Regions from separate parts of the Homo sapiens genome. Here region 1 is linked to region 2. The links are contacts of gene promoters, found by promoter capture Hi-C in human tissues and cell types (Jung and others, 2019). All regions are on one chromosome and are shown on one strand. Each heading gives the region's core, a stretch centred on a gene start or on the middle of the fragment in contact. The rest is flanking DNA. Distances are from core to core; before and after follow the strand shown.

Region 1 (5,416 bases), core at 2,046-4,545, 1.4 Mb before region 2:
TAGAAATATTGTCCAAGTCACTTATATATGTTCCTCTAAAGATACTGTGATATCTGCAATAAAAAATTTAAAAAGAAAAAAACAGAAAGAGGTTTGCAAGAGAATATGGTACTTATACACATGGCTTATGATGCAAAGTTCCAAGAAGTCTCTGGGGCTTAAGGATCTTTCTCCTTCTGAGAGAACTCTCCATAGATTAATAATATTTGATATAATTTTAGTATGAGAATAATTTGGATAGTATTTAGAGACACAGTGTCAGAGAGATGATATCAATTTTTATATAAATTATATGTAAAATTTGTTTCTCCATTTGTCCATTAGTCTTACACTCTCAAAGACAAGAGTATGACAAATACACAAAAACAAAGAGAGACTGTACTGAATATGCATCATTCCCAGAGACAGAGGCAAACCGATCTCTTGGACACCAAAAGTAATGGGGGGCTGTGGTAAGCTATATATAATGGAGACTGCTAATTCAGACCAAATACTCTCTTCAAGCACAACTGCATCCCTTGGTTGAGATCTACTCCATTCCCCCCATCCCCAGTCATTAATCTTTGATTTGACTAAACTAAACCAAACCAAATGACAGTAAAGAGAGATTCTATTTCTTAGATTTATAGAGGACTTTTACAAATGAATTTTATGGCAGGGTGCCAGATGGATGAATTTAGAAATAAATAAAAGACATCTAGCTACAGAGTAGATAGAATCTATACTGAGTTTGGAGATAAAACATTAAACAAAAACATTGAAATGTGATTTTCTCAAAACTGTGAAAAGATAATTCACAGGAAAATTGGGGGCATAAGAGATTATGATCAGTTTAAAAGGTCATCACATGAAACGGCCCAACTACTGAAGTTGAAGCTGTCAGTTATGTTTCAAGCAGGACACTTTGAGGTTTATTTTGATATAGTGTGGGTGAAGGGAAAATTGGGGGGGACGATTTTCATGCAGACTTCACATTAGGACTCCAGGGTCATCTTTCTGGGCCACAGTTTCCTTATCTGAATAATAAGGGTGGTAGACTTGGATCACTATTTCTTTTTTTTTTTTTTTTTTTTTTTTAATGTTTTTTTTTTTTTATTATACTCTAAGTTTTAGGGTACATGTGCACATTGTGCAGGTTAGTTACATATGTATACATGTGCCATGCTGGTGCGCTGCACCCACTAACGTGTCATCTAGCATTAGATATATCTCCCAATGCTAACCCTCCCCCCTCCCCCGACCCCACCACAGTCCCCAGAGTGTGATATTCCCCTTCCTGTGTCCATGTGATCTCATTGTTCAATTCCCACCTATGAGTGAGAATATGCGGTGTTTGGTTTTTTGTTCTTGCGATAGTTTACTGAGAATGATGGTTTCCAATTTCATCCATGTCCCTACAAAGGACATGAACTCATCATTTTTTATGGCTGCATAGTATTCCATGGTGTATATGTGCCACATTTTCTTAATCCAGTCTATCATTGTTGGACATTTGGGTTGGTTCCAAGTCTTTGCTATTGTGAATAGTGCCACAATAAACATACGTGTGCATGTGTCTTTATAGCAGCATGATTTATAGTCCTTTGGGTATATACCCAGTAATGGGATGGCTGGGTCAAATGGTATTTCTAGTTCTAGATCCCTGAGGAATCGCCACACTGACTTCCACAATGGTTGAGCTAGTTTACAGTCCCACCAACAGTGTAAAAGTGTTCCTATTTCTCCACATCCTCTCCAGCACCTGTTGTTTCCTGACTTTTTAATGATTGCCATTCTAACTGGTGTGAGATGATATCTCATAGTGGTTTTGATTTGCATTTCTCTGATGGCCAGTGATGATGAGCATTTCTTCATGTGTTTTTTGGCTGCATAAATGTCTTCTTTTGAGAAGTGTCTGTTCATGTCCTTCGCCCACTTTTTGATGGGGTTGTTTGTTTTTTTCTTGTAAATTTGTTTGAGTTCATTGTAGATTCTGGATATTAGCCCTTTGTCAGATGAGTAGGTTGCGAAAATTTTCTCCCATGTTGTAGGTTGCCTGTTCACTCTGATGGTAGTTTCTTTTGCTGTGCAGAAGCTCTTTAGGTATTTCAAAATAATAAGAGCTATCTATGACAAACCCACAGCCAATATCATACTGAATGGGCAAAAACTGGAAGCATTCCCTTTGAAAACTGGCACAAGACAGGGATGCCCTCTCTCACCGCTCCTATTCAACATAGTGTTGGAAGTTCTGGCCAGGGCAATTAGGTAGGAGAAGGAAATAAAGGGTATTCAATTAGGAAAAGAGGAAGTCAAATTGTCCCTGTTTGCAGACGACATGATTGTTTATCTAGAAAACCCCATCGTCTCAGCCCAAAATCTCCTTAAGCTGATAAGCAACTTCAGCAAAGTCTCAGGATACAAAATCAATGTACAAAAATCACAAGCATTCTTATACACCAACAACAGACAAACAGAGGGCCAAATCATGAGTGAACTCCCATTCACAATTGCTTCAAAGAGAATAAAATACCTAGGAATCCAACTTACAAGGGATGTGAAGGACCTCTTCAAGGAGAACTACAAACCACTGCTCAAGGAAATAAAAGAGGACACAAACAAATGGAAGAACATTCCATGCTCATGGGTAGGAAGAATCAATATCGTGAAAATGGCCATACTGCCCAAGGTAATTTACAGATTCAATGCCATCCCCATCAAGCTACCAATGACTTTCTTCACAGAATTGGAAAAAACTACTTTAAAGTTCATATGGAACCAAAAAAGAGCCCGCATCGCCAAGTCAATCCTAAGCCAAAAGAACAAAGCTGGAGGCATCACACTACCTGACTTCAAACTATACTACAAGGCTACAGTAACCAAAACAGCATGGTACTGGTACCAAAACAGAGATATAGATCAATGGAACAGAACAGAGCCCTCAGAAATAATGCCACATATCTACAACTATCTGATCTTTGACAAACCTGAGAAAAACAAGCAATGGGGAAAGGATTCCCTATTTAACAAATGGTGCTGGGAAAACTGGCTAGCCATATGTAGAAAGCTGAAACTGGATCCCTTCCTTACACCTTATACAAAAATCAATTCAAGATGGATTAAAGATTTAAACGTTAGACCTAAAACCATAAAAACCCTAGAAGAAAACCTAGGCATTACCATTCAGGACATAGGCGTGGGCAAGGACTTCATGTCCAAAACACCAAAAGCAATGGCAACAAAAGCCAAAATTGACAAATGGGATCTAATTAAACTAAGGAGCACTATTTCTTAATGTATGTTCCATGGAGTAGTATCCTCAGGAGAAGCTCCATGAAAGTGTTCCTAGGAAAATAGACACACACTATATTCTCTATATCTTTCTTGGAGGTTTAGTGAGCACATTAGAGTACTACAGTTTTTTTAAACTGTTTTTAGTGAAGAAACTTGTTTAATTTCTAAATCCCAACATTTCCCAAATTTTATCCCCCAAGGAAATCTCTTTATCTTCTTACAACATATATTTAGATTCTGCAGAACACTGAAAAATATAGGTTCAGTTACATCTAATATCTTTTCAAGCTTTATCATATTATAAGATCAAAAAGAAGTCTGTCAAGAAGCATTCTTATATAATCTGTTCAGAGAAAATAAATAGATCTTTCATTCTCGCCATGAGTGTGCGGTTCTTCAGCCTTGAAACTGGATATTGAGAGTGAAATGAACACACTTCGTGTCCAGTAGAATAGTACTGAAAAAGGATCACTTAAATAGTAATGCAGCTTGTGTCCAAGGGAACCCACACAAAAGGCTGTGCTTACAGATGCCAGTAATTATGCAGCCGGGAGAAAACCCTCATTCCGTGGTCGACAGCTCTTCCGGCCCTCTGCCGACTTCCCCAATGTTGCCATGCTTTCCAACTTTGTGGTTGAAAGCACTGAAGTTTTAAGAAAAACTGGACAAATTTTGCTTTTGCTAGCTTTTCTTACTGCTAACTACCATTAAGCTTAAAAAGTATATAGCACATGTAAACCCACAATGTAAGTAAGATATGAAAAGCACTTACAACTATATAAATGATACCATACATGGAGAGCCCTTCAAATAATGCTAACACACAACTAGAGCTAATAAGGTGTAATAGTATGAGGTAATGTTGCATGCTTATATATTACATGGTTTTTTATCCACCCAATGCCGTGGTATTATTATGCACATTTACACATTAGCAACTTGATCAAGACCACACTATATATGAGTGAGGAACAGACCCAGTACTGACCAAATACAAGCTTGTTATTCTGAATCACTACCCTCCTTGGAAAATCTACCTGATGAAAGCTCAGTTCCAGCTTGAAGCCTAGTGGCTCTCCCCCACCCTCTTTATATCTGGCTGCTTGAGGGCATGACAAAGGATTCTGCTCCCCTCCCATTCAGGGTCTCAGTGATCAGTTATCGTTGATTCTGTTTTCAGTTCTTCTGAGAGGAAAAAGATAGAGGTGGGGTGATTTTTTAAATTATTTCCAAAGCCTACTCTTCTTCTTTGCAGAGTCATTTTTATACACAAATAAGTTTTGAAATAAATAGAACCAAAAAAGAAAACACCACTATGCCATGTTAGCATTTTGCAGTTTATTAAACAATTAAATATCCATCTTGGTTTTTTTTTAATCCTAAAAACAGTGTAATATTTATATTAGTAGGGCAAGCATGCATATTATTCAAAATATGCAGAAATTAAAGCTAAAGAGACATCTAATAGTGCACAAATTACATTTACAAAATGGGGACATAACCTAGACTACTATGTGTCATGAAAATTAGTGGGGATCTGCCATACAAATAGGTTTCTTTTTAGAAATTTTAAGAACTGAGAAAATCTGTTTTGAATAAGTCTTTCATTTCCCCATTCATTCTTTTAAAAATGTAGACTTCCAAGGAAATTCCAAGGCAGTTGGTCAGAATTCAATGTCTTACAAGTTGGCCATTTCCACCATCGTTGTTTTCTGAATGAATGAATCTTTTACTAATATAATAGGATGCTGAGTCCTCTGAATTTGGAAACTAAGGCCATGAACTGGAGACAACATTTTCTAATTATTCTACAATCTACAGAAAGCCACAAATAACTTCCTCCTTTACGGCCACCAGCCAGCATATCAACCTCCATTCTCCTTTCTCCATTTATATGACCATCATCAGTAAGAAGCCTTGAAAGAATGATTCAGCCTGTGGGGAAGATTGCAAATCCAAGCCGAGAGAGTACTTCACAAGAATCACTTGTAATCTTCCCTACACCTCTGAGAAGGGGAATAAAAGATTGGACTGATTTCAGGGTGGAGAGAGCTGGCCACTTCAGAGCTGGCCAGCAATAGGGGAAGGGAAAGAATGTAGTCAGTTGCTCAGTGACTAACTTTAGATTATGGAATACTTACAA
Region 2 (5,842 bases), core at 3,294-5,793:
CCTTTCTGCCTTCTTCCAAACCTTATTCATACTCTTAACTTGTACATGTATCAGGGTCTCTGCTTATGATCTCCTTTCTATACTATGCTTAAATCACAAGATATTACTACGAGTAGAAAAGTCAGAGAGAACTTAGAGCGAATGGAAACAGTCATGGGCTATTTCAAATTTAATCTGTATTTAATTTATGTGAAAAAGTTTCCTAGATACAAAAGGCATGAAATTATTTAAAGAAAACTAATGTATAAGCAAAAAGTCACATAAAACTGATATCAAAATCAATATTCAAGACAAATCTGCTTTGGCATTTGAAAAAGCTATTCCAAGTTTTAGTAATTTTTAAAAATTCTCAGCATTCCCAACTCTAGAAGAGCTCCTAAATTATTATTTTGAACAGGTTACAGTCGGCTATAATTAACATAATATAAAAACTCAAAACAAAAATGCCCCATCCTCTAAGAGATGGGGTATAAAAAGGCAAAAACAGCAAAGGGGATAACAAAGTGGATAATTTCAAAGATGATAAGTACTTCTGGCAACTCTTCTTGGCATTACACAGACACAATCTGATTCTTGTCCTGCTATGCATGTCCTGTTATGCACCAATGTTTTCCACAAACAGTTCTCTGTTTTCAGTACTTGCCAGCTTAATGTTTCTTTGAGTTTCTAAGTGTGTAATGGAAGAGCAGAGTCAGACAACTTAACTGGAATTTTGACATCAGAATAAGTTTTTTTTTTCAAAAGATTATGTCCAGTTTTGTCTAAGGTACTCAGTTTAGAGTAATAAGACATGCAATGCTTTCAGGAGCTGCATTTTGAAAAATTATAATATTTTCTTGATGGGCATGATTAGCCTTTTATTATCTAAATCAACTGTTTGCTCATCTCCAGTCTATTCCCAATACAGAAGTCTAATCATGTCACTCTACTGTTTAAAAACCTCTAACTCAGAAAATAAAGCTTTATGCCTTTGACACAGGAGTCCCTTTTAAAAATGAACTCATATCCTTTCACTCCTAGGCTCAAAATCTTGCAAGGCCTACCCATTTCACTTGGAGTCGAAGTCAAAGTCCTTACAATGCCCTAACTATTTGCAGTCCTTTCTTTACCCTTCTGACTTTATCACTTACTATTTTATCCCTTGGCCACTTTGTTCTGGCCTCTTTTTGTAATGCTTTGCATGTTCCCTATCTTAATGTTTCTGTTCTAGTTGTTCCCTCTTTCTGGAATGCTCTTCCCTAAGAAATCTATTGCTGCATCACCTTCAAATATTTTCTCAAATTTTCTGCTTTTCAATGAGGCCTACCCTGAGCACTCTATAGAATACCACAAATCCTCTTTTCCCTCTGTACTCTGGATTTGTTCCATCTGTTATACTTTCTTTTTCCCATAACACTTATTCCCTTATAAAATAGGATATAGTTTACTTATTTATTTTTTATAGACTACATCTCTCTCTTAGAATGTAATTTCCAGGAAGGCAATTTTAGTCAATGATGTATATCCCGAGTACCTACAATATTGCCTGACACACAGCAAGTACTCTATAAATATTTGGTAAGTGAATGAATTTTTTTCACCATATTTGTTCCCCCAAATTTAAGTACAAAACTGAAGCAAGAGAAAACAGACGGTACTTTTAGTATTTCTCCAACATGAATATAAGTTTTAACCATCCTTGGAGTTGACTTGATTCCTATTTGGCACCGCCTTAGTTGAGGCCCTTTAATTGCTTCTAATGAGAGTTCCTCCTTCATATGGTGGTCAGAATTAGCACTGAAAAAGCACAAACCTAAACAGATTACTCCACTGCCAAAAAACATCTATTTATCTTAAAAAAGAAAGTCTTTACTCCTTGGCTTGATATATGTGCCTTATAATCTAACCTCAACCTAATTTATGACTCTTCTCCCACCTTTCCTTATAAACCTCATGATCTTGTCACGCTAGAACATATTTATTTTCACTAAGCTATACTGATTTGAATAGTCTATATTTTCTTCATCTCCATAGATGCTATAGATCTTTCATGACCCAACGCAAATGCCTCATTTCCTATCAGGACTTCTCTAATGCCCTGGGGTAGAGTTGTCCCTCCTTTCTGTGCTCCCAACGCACTTTCTATACCCATCTACCAAAGCAGATTAAAAATACCCTGTATTAAAAACATTGTATTATGTTTGTGTCTAGCTCCCCCACTAATCTGTAGATTCCTTAGTTATTCATCTTTTATATTCTATTTTTATTTCTTTCGAACTCACCCAGTAGTTGGCATAGTGCATGACATATAGAAAACATTAAATACATTTGGGAGATTTAAGAGTGCCTATGTGTTTAATGTTTTCCTGGATAATGATGATGATTAATGTTCTAAAGTGCAGTTAGATTCGTTAATAGCTAGTTTTCAAAACTAATTACATCCTATTCAAGATCTGGGAGTTGGAATCTGAGCCTACAATTAAAAAAACATTTTAACTAGCAGTAAATATTCCAAATATAAAAGCCTAAATCATAGTGATATAAAAATAGGTTAATATACTACTCCGCCATTTAATTGTCATTAGATCAAACATGATCCAAGAGATCCTCGAAATTAGGATTGGGTTGAGTATATACTTGGTCACTATTCATTTCTGGGTCTAAGAAATCCTTTTAATATTAGTATTAAAAATGAAGTATATGGCCGGGCGCAGTTGCTCACGCCTGTAATCCCAGCACTTTGAGAGGCCGAGGCGAGCGGATCATGAAGTCAGGAGATGGAGACCATCCTGGCTAATACGGTGAAACTCCGTCTCTACTAAAAATACAAAAAAATTAGCCGGGCGCGGTGGCGGGCGCCTGTACTCCCAGCTATTCGGGAGGCTGAGGCAGAAGAACGGCGAGAACCCGGGAGGTGGAGCTTGCAGTGAGCCGGGATTGAGCCACTGCACTCCAGCCTGGGCGACAGAGCAGGACTCGGTCTCAAAAAAAAAAAAGTGTATGACCTTGAAACTGATCAAGAGCAACTTTCCAAGTGAGATAAATGACGTGAAAAATCATATATTAAAGTGACCACATTTTACTTAACTCAAAAATTATCTTGGATTTGTGCCATTTTAATTTTCACTGGGTAACTTTATATGGAAAAATCACCTGCAATATGAGGATAAACTTACCTATTTTCCAGAAGCCTAATGAGATTTTTATCAATGATTACAATACTTGCGTGTCTGTCTGGGATATAATATGAACAAGACAGGCTGATGGCTTTGGAAAATGTGCCATGTTTCTACTCAATGAAGCATGAAAAGTGATTTGACAGAGTGCTTCAAGAATGCACTTTGCACTTGTTTTCCTCTCCTGCCTTCAGGAAGATAAGTGAGACAAAAAAAAAAAAAAAAAAAAAAAGACTAAAGTTAGTATTCTTCCTGAATCCATTTTTGAAGAATCCAGTATAATTTTTAGAAAATATTTCCTCTAGAGAAGACATTGTAGGAGGCATAAAAGGGGTCCGCATGTGTGAGCAATTAAAGGTTAGAAGTTTTAAGATTCTCTCATTCCTTCATTCCCACCAGGAAGTCAGTGGTCCATCCTACCTCAGTCTTTCTCCCCTGTCCTTTAAGCTGATTCCTGGCCAAATTCAGAACGGGCAGAAGCAGTAAATCTGGCCCTCTGGACAAGAGATTGAGTTGGTTTACAAAAGTTTCACAAGTATCTAAATCTAGGCCGTTACTGAATCAACTGGATAATCAGACTACCTGTGTCTGACTCTGAAGTGCAGATCAAGTTGATATCGTTGACAACTGGCCAAATCTTAGGACTGGGCCAAGGAAATGGCTGGATGTGTGTGTGTGTGTGTGTGTGTGTGTGTGTGTGTGTGTGTGTGTGTGTTGGGGTTGGAGGGCGGGGTCCGATAGTAATTATGGGTGGGGCCAAAGTCCTACCTCGTAAACAAATGCTACACGAAACATGTAAAAACGTTTATCTATGTATGTAGTGAAGCTTTAAATACATCCCAAGACCCATGCTTATCCCAATACCCACGTCCCTCCAACGACACTGTTACCCCATGCCACTGCTATACAGAATTCTGGTGTCTACCATGCCAGAATCCCTGCCCAAAACAGGGAGGAGGTAAATGGCTGAAGGCCCAGCTCCAGGCACTGTAGAAAATGAGGAAAGTCTAGCGGCAAAAAGAAAGGGCAGTCCCCTCTTCCTCTAGTACTCCTAGCCACATGCTGGACCAATTCACCCCAGGACCTCCAGGCCCTAGATTCTCATTCTTTCCCTGGCCCGAAGAGGACAGAAAAATCAAACACACGGGCTCCCACGTCTTCAGGAAAGACTTAGCTTAGCAGTCAGCGGAAGCACCTCACTACTAACCTCGCTCCTTTCTCCTCTCCTACAGGGGGCTGGAGTTCCCGGCTTCCCACCGGCCAGACGCGATTCTGGCTGGGACAGCAACACCAAAAACGCCAGGGCTAGGGAGCCCAGTTCCCCGTCCGCAGTTTGCGCATGTGCGAAGAGGGGCTTCTGGAGGAGCCGGGGGCTTAGTTGCTAAGAGACACAGCTGGAGAGAGAAGTTCCGCTTAACGCCGGGCTGCGAAAGGCGGGGACGTCACGCTATTGGTAGGGAGTAGAGAGAAAGGGCTGGTTTAAAGGCCTTTTTTTCTGTCCATTGGATGAACTGGATGTCAATAACTCAGGCTGGGTGGGCGGGGCTGAGAGAGGTCGGTGAGAGCGGCCTTAGCAACCGCCAGTGAGCTGTGAAGACTTGGGTTGGGCGGGGCTGCGGGAGGTGACGCCGGGAGGTCCCGGCTGAGAGCGCCGGCTGCCGGCTGGGGACCTGGTGAGTGTGAAGCTGTAACCTTCTGCTGGGGCCGGGGCCGAAGTTTTTCCGCCAGAGCAAGGAAGGCTGCCCCTGGCAGCAACTGCACTCCTTCCTTACTCCTGTTGAGATTCATTTTATAGTAGGAAATAGGTACTTTAATATAGTTTATCATCAATTATTCTGGTTCTGCTAACTATTCCAGTTATATAATTTATCTTTCACCCATATGTGTGTGTATTACAGGCATCTAACTACCATACAAGTTCAGACCAATGGAAGAAAAGAGCAGCAAAAATTGAACTGAATGAATCCCAAAAGCAAGAAATTAAAGACGCCTTTAATTTATTTGATATTGATGGGTCTGGAACCATCGATGTAAAAGAAGGTTCTGAAATTATTTCTAATTCTAAATCATTTTAAAAACCATATTATTTGTGGCAATCTTTAAGGCTTTCTTTAAAAGTAGTCTTCTGAAAGCTTAATATAAAGTCTCTTCAGTGCATATGCCTGCCCTGCATTAGCAAAACGATATCTTGTTAAGCATTTTAATTGTGTTTTATAAATGAGTAGGCAAAAGCCCAGGGTGTAACAGTGATGTACATGATGGCACAGTAGGACTGAAACACAGGCCTGCTGACCTAATTTTCTGTTTATGCTCAGTCCATAATAGAAAAGAGAGAAGCTCTTAATAGGGAGTTAAAAAGCTTAGAAAGAAATCATGGCATATTATAATTCCTTTTCTTCCTATTTCAGATTGCAGTGTGGGCCTTAGGATTTGAACCAAAGAAAGAAGAAATTTAAAAAATGGTAGCTGAAGTTGATAAAGAAGGAATTGGCACCATTAGTTTTGAAGATTTTTTTTTGCCATTATGAGTATAAAAATGATATAGTTATGATTTTATTTTTCAAAGAAATACTAGCAATAACCTGCTACATTTTAGGGCTGGAGCAATCAGAAGTTTTATAGAGAAGCAATTAGAACTAGGTTTTTAAGGATGGGAGATAGGAAGAGCAAGATTAAATATGTTTTCA

The links. The method cuts DNA at HindIII sites, captures the fragments that hold promoters and counts their contacts. A contact is called where the count stands out against the background at its distance.
Region 1: a contact is called between a fragment that was not itself captured here and the fragment with the promoter of BBS12 in region 2, in 1 of the 25 tissues and cell types used here (dorsolateral prefrontal cortex).

Annotation. Positions count from the first base shown.
Region 1 is chr4:124,150,753-124,156,168 of GRCh38, reverse strand. The region is part of intron 2 of LOC105377407 (a long non-coding RNA gene); the gene reads left to right. Among named protein-coding and RNA genes, the nearest start is that of LINC02516, 400 kb to the left of the region's middle. The HindIII fragment of the contact is 6,713 bases long and covers 1-5,416 here.
Region 2 is chr4:122,731,405-122,737,246 of GRCh38, reverse strand. BBS12 (Bardet-Biedl syndrome 12) reads right to left here and starts at 4,543. Exons shown (of 2, transcript NM_152618.3): 1 at 4,363-4,543. It also overlaps the pseudogene CETN4P. RefSeq lists an enhancer at 4,084-4,293 and a silencer at 4,654-4,873. The HindIII fragment of the contact is 3,301 bases long and covers 2,472-5,772 here.